2 separate regions of the Homo sapiens genome follow, and region 1 is linked to region 2. Evidence: promoter capture Hi-C in 16 types of primary human blood cells and fetal thymus (Javierre and others, 2016). All regions are on one chromosome and are shown on one strand. The core of a region is centred on a gene start or on the middle of the fragment in contact, and the rest is flanking DNA. Distances in the headings are between cores, read along the strand shown.

What was found. Contacts are between HindIII fragments. The CHiCAGO score rates a contact against its expected background, and 5 or more counts as called.
Region 1: a fragment that was not itself captured here is called in contact with the fragment with the promoter of LGR5 in region 2 in 1 of 17 cell types (activated CD4 T cells); the score reaches 5.9 in activated CD4 T cells.

What each region holds. Positions count from the first base shown.
Region 1 is chr12:71,733,147-71,738,912 of GRCh38, reverse strand. No RefSeq gene overlaps it. Among named protein-coding and RNA genes, the nearest start is that of RAB21, 19 kb to the left of the region's middle. The HindIII fragment of the contact is 1,452 bases long and covers 818-2,269 here.
Region 2 is chr12:71,436,468-71,442,231 of GRCh38, reverse strand. LGR5 (leucine rich repeat containing G protein-coupled receptor 5) reads right to left here and starts at 2,434. Exons shown (of 18, transcript NM_003667.4): 1 at 1,940-2,434. The coding sequence starts at 2,151. LOC124902962 (a long non-coding RNA gene) reads left to right here. Exons shown (of 3, transcript XR_007063364.1): 2 at 645-764. The HindIII fragment of the contact is 5,220 bases long and covers 87-5,306 here.

The DNA of each region.
Region 1 (5,766 bases), core at 294-2,793, 300 kb before region 2:
GGATTCACTCTTCTCACTTTTTCCACCATGTGAAAGGACATAGTGTTCATCCCCCTTTTGCCCTTCCATCCTTTCTGACATGTGATGACACCTAGATGGTGCCATCTATGAGGAAAATGCCCTCACCAGACACAGAACCTTGATCTTGGACTTCCCAGCCACCAGAACTGTGGGAAATAAGTTCAGCTCTTTATAAATTACCCAATCTGTGTTATATTGTGATAGCAGCACAGGTGGACTAAGACAAGGAGCTGGACTGTTCACTGTGTCATAAGCTCCCTGACATCAGATGCTGTTTCTTCTCTATATTTGTATGTCCAGTGCCTACTATAGTGCCTGGCACATTGTAGGCATTAAAAAATAGTTTGTTAAATCAATAAATAACTGAAAACCATTTATTAATAATGGGTATATTATTTGTTGTCACTTTTACAGCAGCAAACACGAAAATCTCTCCAGGCATAGATTTTATGAGCTATATTATTATTATTTTTTGAGACGGAGTCTCGTTCTGTTGCTCTGGCTGGAGTGCAGTGGCACGATCTCAGCTCACTGCAACCTCCACCTCCTGGGTTCAAGCAATTCTCCTGCTTCAGCCCCTCAAGTAGCTGGGATTACAGGCCCCCGCCATCACACCTGGGTAATTTTTGTATTTTTAGTAGAAACAGCGTTTTACCATGTGGGCCAGGCTGGTCTCAAACTCCTGACCTCAAGTGATCCACCCGCTTCGGCCTCCCAAAGTGCTGGGATTATAGGCATAAGCCACTGCGCCAGGCCAGCTGTATTATTTTTTATGATTCAATAAGGAGATAAAGCTTGGCTGAAACTCAACGATTCTTCTCTTCCCCAATAGGACCCCTTATGATGCTCTGTGGAAAAAGGGAAATTAAATATGTTAATTTGTCAATTAACAAATAAATAAATAAATTGATATTATGGCCTTATAATAATACCCCCGGCATGATTTTCATTAGAAAGACTATTGCCATGAACTATGGGCTTGACAGCATTAATATAGCATCTTACTGCCTCCATCCTCATGCGCTTTCTTTCATGTTCAAAAGCAAAGGAAGTTTCATCAACCATTTTCAATCACTGACTCTGTAAGTTCAAGAATTTCAGGGACTGCTACAAAGAATCAGTTTGATTATTAAGTCAAAGCTAGACTTTTGCTTTCATGCTTAAAGAAGTAACTACTCTGGGACTCCTCTCCCTCCTACTGTAGACAACAAGAAACAGGGTGGAGAGGGTGGAATTAAACAAATGGACAACAGGCAGCACAGGACTGTGATCTTTGAGTGAAGGGAAATAATCTAGATGAGCATTTTAACTGCACTGGCTTTCTGTCTGGGGACAATTTCTAACCACAGTGTAGGAAGGTCTCATTAAGATGGGATGATAGTAATTGAAGTTCAGGGGTTCCGAAGCAGCTAAAATTTGTGGGACAGTAAAAAGGAGAGAAAGGAGCTAGAAAAAGAACTCCAGAAATTTGCATAGGGTTTCCTCCCTTGAGTCTTTGAGACTAAATTCAAATCTGTGTGCCTGAAGGGTGAAACTCCATGAGGCTGGGCAAAGAACAAATGCTGTGGAATGAACATTTACAGAGGTGCTGTAATGTAGAAAATTTTTAGAACTCCCAAAAGCCTGGGGATCATTTTAGTGCCCATCAGAGAAAGTAGAGAGACCTCATTGAATAAATGGGCCATTGAGTAGAGATCCCAGAGGGTTTCAGCTTAATAGTAGAGCTAAACTAGTTCTACAGTAAAGGCTACCTCTACTTACCTTAAAACACGTAAAATCAAACCTTGAAAAGATGAAGTTGATCCAAAAGTCACTTAATTACCTTCCAGAATAAAGTTGCATACTCCATAGGAATACTACAATAACTTTAAAGGAATATTACAAAAAACTCATGAAGACAGAAATCACAGTTCGGGGAGATTAGGCTGCTAGAATTGTGAGACAGAGAACTAGAGGGTAGGGCATTGAGTAGAGACAGACTTCTGCAGAACTGTAGAGGGGTTTCATAAAATATTTGACTAAGTACTGATTTGCACGCGACTGAAAGGAATTTTGGAAGTAGACACCGGAAAAGAATGAGCAAAATAATTACCAGCATTCATACAGAGAATAATTTGTGTTCCCACCAGTTGGATTGGAGAGGCCTTGTCATAGACAGGGCATCAGGTACAGCCCTCAGAAGAGTCAGGCCTTAGGAGTGTGGACAAACAGCCAAGTAAAGTCTTCTCTGGACCCACCATAACAAGCTTAATACAAAGCCTCAAATGGTTCAAACTAATCCTCAGGTGTATTAAAGTGAACATCAGAACAAAAATCAAAACTCTTTAAAAGGATACAAAAATTCAGTACTTCACAATGTAAAGTTCACAATGTCCAGCATCTAACAAAAAATGGCTCAGCCTGCAAAGAAGCAGAAAATATGATCCATAACTAGGATAAAAATTAGTCAATAGAAATGGGACAAGAAACGACAGAAGTGATGTAATTGGCGAGCAAAAACATTAAAACAGCTACTATAAATTTAAAAAATACACAAGTGAATTAAAGGAAAATGTGAACATAAGGAGGAGAGAAATGGAAGACATAAAATATGTTAATAAAATTTTTAGAGATAAAAATATAATTTATTAAATGAAAAATAACCGGATGGGATTAAGAGCCCATTAAACATTGCAGAGGAAACAATCAGTGAACTTGGGTAAGAACAATAGAAACTATGCAAAATGAAGTATACAGAAAAAAGACCAAATATAAGTGAATTGAGCCAAGGGGCAATATCAAGTGGTCTAACGTATATGCAAATGAAATCCTAGCAAAAGATAGGTGAGCAAAAATATTTGAAAGATGGTCAAGTACTTTCTAAATTTGATAAAAACTGTCAATCCAGAGATCCAAAAAAGTCAACAGACCCAAAGTAGAAGCGGTATACAGAAAGCTCCATAAAAGGAAATCAGTTTCAAATTGTTGAAAACCAGTGGAAGAGAAAAGTAGCCAAAGGAACAAAGATTTTTTAAAAAGTAACAATTTTCTCATGAGAAGTTATGCAGACCAGAAAACAATCAAATGGTATCTTTAAAGTGCTAAAAGAAAAAATATTCAACCAGTAATTATCTACCAGTGAAAATGTCTTTCAAAAATGAAGTCATGTCCAATCCTGGAAGCTAAGCATGGTTGGGCCTAGTTAGTACTTGGATGAGAGTACTGTTGAGTGATGTAGGTTTATTAAAAACTAAATTTAAAAATTTTAAAATGAAGTTTAAAATGATTTTCAGATCAATGAAAGCTGACAAAATTCATTGCAAGTAAATGTGCACTATAAGAAAGCTCTCTAGGCAGAAGAAAAATTATGAAAATGTGGATCTGTGCAAAGGAATGAAGAGTACCTGGAATGGGAAATCTTTGAGAAAGAAACATTAAATTTATTCCTCATATTTTAATCTCTTTAAAAGATAATTATTTGTAGCAAAACAGACAAGTAGAGAAAACTCACAATGCCAAAAGTTGCCTCTTTGAAAATATTAAAACAACTGATAAACCTGGCAAGAATAAAAAGAAAGAAAACTCAAATTATTAATATGAGAAATAAAAGAGGGGATATCATGACAGATCTTATGGATATAAAATCCATGAAAGAAAATCTCATGTGAATTAATGCCTACATGAAGTGGAAAAATTCCTGTAAAGACAGGAATTTTAAAATTCCTGTAAAGACAGGAATTTTAAAATTCCTTTAACTGACTCAAAAAAATAGGAAATTTGAATAGCACTATAGCTGTTAAATAAAATGAATTTATGATTTATAAATTTTAAGCAAAGAAAGTGTCAGAGCCAGATGACTTCACTGGTGAATTTTACCAAATATTTAATGGAAGAAATAATACCAATCCTACACAAAGTTTTTCAGAGGATTAAGGACAAAGGAACATTTTCAATTCATTTTATTATGTTTTGTATTTTTATTTTTTATGTTTTTGAGTCAGAGTCTCAATCTGTCACCCAGGCTGCAGTGCAGTAGCATGATCGCATCTCACTGTAGTCTTGACCTCCTGGGCTCGTTTTCCTCTCACTTCAGCCTCCCAAGTAGCTGGGACTACAGGCATTTGCCACCACACCCAGCAAATTTTCTCTATTTTTTTGTTGAGATGGGATCTCCCTATGTTGCCCAGGCTGGTCTCAAACACTTGGGCTCCAGGGTTCCTCCAACCCTGGCCTCCCAAAGTGCTGGGGTTACAGGTGTGAGCCACCATGCCTGGCTGCAGCTGATTTTATGATGCCAGCATTACCCTAAAACGAAAATTAGGCAGAAATTACAAGAAAAAGAAAACCCTGCTGGTCAATATCCCTCATAACTCTAGACACAAGAGTGATTTTTTAAATTGGCAAATTAAATCCAGTAATATATAAAAGGATGATACGCTGTGATTAAGTGGAGTTTATCCCAGTAATCCAGAATAGATTTAACAACAACAATAACAAAAATCAAAGAATGCAACTCACTATACTAACAGAATAAAGGAGGAAAACAATATGATTATTTCAATAGATTCAGAAAAAAACAAAATTCAACACACACTCATGATTAAAACTCTCAGCAAGCTATGAATAGAAGGGACTTTTTCAATCTGTTAAAGAACATCTGTGAAAAACTACAGCTAATATGATAATGGTCAAAGAATGAACATTTTCCCTTTAAGATCAGGAACAAAGCAAGGCTATCTGCTCTCACCGCTTCTATTCAACATTATACTGAAGTTCCTAGACATTTTAATACACCAATAAGAAGAAATAAAAGGCAAAAAGATTGAAAAGAAGTAAAATTCTCTTTACTCATAGAAGATAAGATAGTTGATGTAGGAAATCCTAAGGAATCTATAAAAAAGCTAGTAGAACCACAAACTGAAGTTAGCAAGTCACAAAATATAAGTTTTGTTTTGTTTTGTTTTGTTTTGTTTTGTTTTGTTTTTTGAGACAGAGTCTGGTTCTGTCGCCCAGGCTGGAGTGCAGTGGCGCGATCTCGGCTCACTGCAAGCTCCACCTCCCGGGTTCACGCCATTCTTCTGCCTCAGCCTCCCGAGTAGCTGGGACAAAATGTAAGATTTTTAATGTTAAAAAATCAGTTGTAGGCCGGGCGTGGTTGCCCACGCCTGTAATCCTAGCACTTTGGGAGGCCGAGGCGGGCGGATTGCCTGAGCTCAGGAGTTTGAAACCAGCCTGGGCAACACGGTGAAACCCCAACTCTACTAAAAATATTTTTTAAAAAAATTAGCCGGGCGTGGCAACTTGCACCGGTAGTCCCAGTTACTCGGGAGGCCGAGGCAGGAGAATCGCTTGAACCTGGGAGGCGGAGGTTGCGGTGAGCCGAGATCGCGCCACTGCACTCCAGCCTGGGCGACAGAGCGAGATTCCGTCTCCAAAAAACAAAACGAAACAAAACAAAATCAGTTGTATTTCTTTATAATAGCAACATTTGGAAATCAAAATTAGAAAACAGTTTCTGTCTCTCTCTCTTTTTTTTTTTTGGAAACAGGGTCTCGCTCTGTCACCCAGGCTGGAGTGCAGTGACACGATCTCAGCTCACTGTAATCTCTGCCTCCCAGGCTCAAGCGATCCTCCTGCCTCAGCCCCCGAGTAGCTAGGGCTACAGGTGCTCGCCAACATGGCAGACTAATGTTTGTGCTTTTAGTAGAGACAGGGTTTTGCCATGTTGTCCAGGCTGCTCTTGAACTCCTGGGCTCAAGTGATTCT
Region 2 (5,764 bases), core at 1,185-3,684:
TTATGCCAACTTTTAGTAACGGAAGCCTAACAAATGTTTGTTCTTTCAAGTGAGAGAAGCAAGCAATCTGGAACTATTCATAAGCTTATTTTCTGTATCCTTAAACATATTTTATAATGAATGTATGATTTAAATAGTAAGTTAAGTGTCTGGGGGTACTGCACACCTCCCTTGCATACAGTCAAACTTCTTCAGGGTGATGGGGAAGAGGAGTTATAGGCTGCCAAGCAAAATTGCCAAACTGGTCTCAGAAATTCACTGCATTGGAGAGCGCGGGATCCTTGCAACACTGACTTTAGCAGTTAAACTAGAGTGGTTGGGGATGAGTATTCTGCTTTGTAGTAGAGATAGCTGTTCAGGAGGAGGAAATGTGAATTCTGAGAGCGTGATCATTTAGGAGAGATTTCCATTCCTGGAACGATATCACTACCACATGCACGAGTGCAATTGAAGGGAAACCTGGTGGGGAAACAGTTTTAACATTCTTTCAGGTAAAAAAGAAAAAGCAGTCAAAATAGCTTTATGGTAGAGGAGGAGGCGACCTGCCATCTACCAATCCTAAAATCTAGCAGAATGGTACCTTTCTTTAAAGACAATATTAAAGCAAGTAAAAGATGTTTTTTTCTTCCTCACTCTGTCTCCAGAAAAAGAATCACTACCTAGTGGAAAATGTTGTGCAAGCCTCTTCATGTTTCTTCCCTCCAGAAAACAACTAAACAGATGGAAGAACTGGTTCACAAACATCCCAACTCTCTCCTGCCAAGGTACATCAGAGAAGCCGAAAACTGGGACTGCATGGGCTTGGGGTGGGCTCGCTGCAATGTCTTGATCTAAAACCTAAATGTTTCACCTTGTGGTAAGGAGCACCTGTTTCCCAGAGTGGCCTAGAACCTGGCCTCTCTGCTGGAAGGAATGAAGCCCCAGATGCTTTGCACGGGGGTGGAGAGAGTAGTCGCCTTGGTCTCCGAGAATAGGGTTCCTCCTGGGTCACCGCGTTCACCCAACTACCTGTTACCTTCGGGCCTGGGTTTTCCACAGAAAAAATTACGCAATGAGCCGCCGCCTCAGGGCTTTGGAAGTTGCAGTGGGGAGAGAAGGGGTGGGAGAATCCCCCAGGGATGATAGAGAGCTTCAGGTCTCCCTTTGGGTGTCGGTGCCGCTGTTTACCAGCCCAACAGCCTTCAGCCCACTTCCCCTTTCCTCCCCGGGGGAAGAGATGGTTAAAGATTACACAGCGGCCGCGGGCACTTCAAAGGGCGGCGCGGGCAGCCAAAGGTAAAGATAACGTTCTGGCAGCTCTAATCGGGGTTTGTGGTTGCCACATTTTAATCACGCCGTTAAAAAAGAAAGAAAATAAAAAGAAAGGAGGGAGGGAAGGAAGGAAGAAGGGAGGAAGGAAGGGAGGAAAAGAGGAAAAAACCCCAAAAAGGTTACATCACGTCACAGTGCAAGGGATGCAGACTAAAAACCCTTTGGAGCTGGGCAAGTTGTTTCTCCTTTGGGGAAACTTTCTACAGACCATCTTTTCGTGGAATGCGACTAGACGCAGAGAGGCGGTTGGGGCGGGGACCAGATGGCAGCCTGCCTTTGGGTACCAGGCTCTGGGTCACAAATGTCCACTCCGCACGCAAATGCCTGCATTTGCAGGAATTCGCCCTGCGATGTTTCTAGCGCTGGACTGGGAAGCTGCGGCGCAGCAGCGCTTTCCCGGGTTGCACTCGAAGCCATTTCTCTGCGGGTCCAGAAAGTGCCGGCACGCTACTCCCCGAGACACGTGCATTTCTCTGGGGGCCCTAACAGGCCTGGCCAGGATGCCCTTGACAAACTCGCCCCCCTCCCCCACGAGCAGGCGGGCGCCGAGGAGCCTCCAGCCTCGCCTTGGACGAACCTTCCTTCCCCTCTTAGTCTCTCTCCCGGAGTGACGTGGGGAAGTACTTACAGGTAGGAGGTGAAGACGCTGAGGTTGGAAGGCAGCTCCGAGAGCCCCAGGTCGGAGCAGTCCACCCTGAGCAACATCCTGCCGTCGGGCTCGCAATGACAGTGTGTGGGGCAGCCCCTCAGCAACACACCAGACCTGGGAGAGCTGCCCCCGGTCGCCAGCTGCAGCAGCACAGGCAAGGACAGGAGCACACCGAGCCGGGAGGTGTCCATGGTGCCCGAAGTAGGGGGCCACGAGCCGGACGCGGGCGGAGAGCAGCACCGGACTGCTACGGGCCGTGGCGCGCCGGGCGCCGCTCCGTGGGCTTCTGCAACTCAGCGGGCGTCTGCAGCGCCAGACGCCGCGTTCCTGACCCCACGGCGTGGGCGGCGAGGAGAAGCGCGGCGGGGACAGAGGTGCCGGTTGCCGCCACGCCGGCCTTCGGAGCAGCCCTGGCTGCAGCGGCGACAGTGGCGGTGCGCCTTGCTGCTGCTCGCGGCCTGAGCGGTGTGGAGCAGCATCTCTGCTTGCACGCTCGTTTTTTAAAGCGCTCCAGCCCGAATTGCGCGCCCAGTGACGTCAGCGCAGCCTGGCTTCCCAGGCACCCCCCGCCCGGCCCCACTTTCCCTCCACTTGTCCCCTCCCTCCTTTCCCAAGTCCTGGGCTGGGAGGCAGCAGGCAGCAGGCAGCGCGCGGTACTGGCGAGTTCTCGGCGCTCCCACTGAGCCTCCGCCTGGAAGATTCAGTGCTCAACGCCGCGCGCCGGAATAGGGGACCCCCCCACCCTTACCCCTTCATGCGTGCTGGAGACCCAGATCTAAGAGTCGAGAGGGACCTGCTTCGGAGAGACCTAAACAGACGCACAAGGACTGGAGGATGCGGCACGTTTCCTCCGAGCCCGCTTCAAATAATGGATGAGATACTTGAAGTGATTAAACAGAATAAAACAAAACAAAAACACAAAAACTAAAATCCTATGCAGAGAAATAGTTACGTTATCAGGGTAAGGAGGCAGGCGTCCCCGGCGAATGATAGGTGGCCTTTTTGATCCTTACGTCTGCCGCACTGTCTGGCTCGCTTTTGCCCTAAAATCAAAGCTCTAGGCTAATCGCTAAACAAATACAGCTCCTGAGCGAGCACTCCACTGCTGCCTTCCTATCTCTTGCGGGGTGAGGAAGTCGAAGTGACTCATTTGTTTTTTAAAAGTGGTTTAGAATACCCTAGAAGTCACTTTTAGTAAATCGATGCCAGAGTGACAGATGGCTGTTTGCTAACTTCCAGGGACTTTTCATCTTAAGTGTCCCAGCGCTCTCTGAACTGAGAGCAGTCCCACCTATGTGAGTGACACTGGGCTCTGAGAACCGCTGCAGAGCGCCAGGGGGAAAATGCATGCTCTTGCTTCAAAAAGTGTCCTATAGTGAATCTGCAGGAAAAAGGAGGAAAAGGATTCAGGGCTTTCTTGGAGAGAAGCCCTCGTTGAGGTACAAATAGCCCTCGCCAGACCTGAGTGAGCTGCTGAAAGAGGTGGTATTCCAAGCCTGCCACACCAACTCACAAAAATGCAGTTTTCACTCTGGGGCACAATGCCTCACAGCATCATGAAGGCAGGATACCCTGTTGATTTTCCAAGTCCTTTTTAATCTTCCTGCATTTAGACTGCCCAACAAAATTTCCCAAATAAACGTCTAAATTTTAGAGTTGGGAAGAGCTGTTTCTCTGTGCAGTGTATGTGCCTTCCTTCATGTCCAAACCTCGCTGTTTGTTCACCTAAAATATATAATTTCTTGACCACAATCTGTAGTCTGAACATCTTCCTTTCTTGGGTGAAAAAACAAACAACAAACAAAGCACTTGACAGTGCTAGTGCCACTGAAAATTGTGAGTTAACTCCGGTTTCCGCACAATCAGTACAGAGAGCCCGCGTCTCTGGACACCCTTTTCCTTCACTTTTCCCTATGTATACCACATTCACTGCTACTCTGTGCTTATTCTCACATTATTCTTGCTTCCCTTAGCCATTCTTTCCACATTTAAAGAATGCCTACCTTGTGTCTTTCTTCCTTTTTTTAAACATTTTAAAAAAAATTTCAATGGCTTTTGGGGGTACAAGTGGGTTTTGGTTATATGGATGAATTATACAGCGGTGAATTTTGAGATTTTAGTGCACTCATCACCCAAGTAGTGTATGTTGTACCCAATATGTAGTTTTTAATCCCACACCCTTCTCCTACCCTCCCTTTTTGGGATCTCCAAAATCCGTTTTAACACTCTGTATGCTTATGCATATTCATAGCTTAGCTCCCACTTATATGTGGGAAAATATGGTATTTGGTTTTCCATTCCTGAGTTACTTCACTTAGAATAATGGCCTTCAGCTCCCTTCAAGTTGCTACAAAAGACTTTATTTTATTCCTTTTTATGGCTGAGTACTCTTCCATGCTGTATGTATACCACATTTTCTTTATCCACCCACTGGTTGATGGGCACTTACGTTGGTTCCACATCTTTACAATTGTGAACTGAGATGCAATAAAAATACGTGTGCATGTGTCTTCTTCATATAATAACGTCTTTTCCTTTGAATAGTGATATGGTTTGGCTCTGTGTCCCCACCCAAATCTCATGTCGAATTGTAATCCCAAGCATTGGAGGAAGGGCCTGGTGGGAGGTGATTGAATCATGGGGGTGAATTTCCCCCTTGCTGTTCTCATGATAGTGAGTTCTCATGAGATCTGGTTGTTTAAAAATGTGTTGCATTCCACCTTTGCCCTCTCTCTCCTGCTTCCTCATGTGAAGACGTGCCTGCTTCCCCTTCTTCTTCCACCATGATTGTAAGTTTCCTGAGGCCTCCCCAGCCATGCTTCCTGTACAACCTGTGGAACCATGAGCCAATTAAACCTCTTTCATTATAAATTACCCATTCTCAGGTAGTTCTTTATAGCAATGTGAGAATGGACTAATACAGAAAATTGGTACCAGGAGAGAGGCATTGCTATAAAGATATCTGAAAATGTGGAAGCAATTTTGTAACTTGGTAATGGGCAGAGGTTGGAACAGTTTGAATGGCTCAGAAGAAGACAGGAAGAAGAGGGAATGTTTGAAACTTCCCACAGACTTGTTAAATTGTTGTGATCAAAATGCTGATAGTGACATGGACACTGAAGTCCAGGCTGAGGTGGTCTCAGATGGAGATGAAGAACTTGTTGGGAATTGGAGCAAAGGTCACTTTTGTTATTCATTAGCAAAGAGGTTCTAGGCATTGTGCCCCTGCCCTAGAGATCTGTGGAACTTTGAACTTGAGAATGATGATTTAGGGTATCTGGCAGAAGAAATTTCTAAGTGGCAAAGCATTCAACATGTGACCTGAGTGCTTCTAACAGCATAAGCTTATATTTGTGAGCAAAGAGATAATCTGAAACTGAAACATATTTAAAAGGAAAACAGAGTGTAAAAGTTTGGAAAATTTGCAGCCCTGCCAAGTGGTAGAAAAGAAAAACCCATTTTCTCAGGAGTAATTCAAGCTGGGCCTAGGAAGGAAGAATGATTTTGCAGGCTGGCCCCAGGGTCTGGGTGTCCCACTTCCTTAAGCCCCACTGCCCTGACCAACCTCAAGACACTGCTCCCTGCATCCCAGCCACTGCAGTTCTAGCCATGACTAAAAGGGCCCAAATATGTCTGAGGCAGCTGCTCCAGAGGGTGTAAACCCTGACCCTTGGCAGCTTTCGCTTGGTGGTAAGCCTGTGGGTATGCAGAGGGCAAGAGTTGAGGCTTGGGAGCTTCCACCTAGATTTCAGAGGATGTATGGAAATGCCTGGATGTCCAGGCAGATGTCTGCTGCAGGGGTGG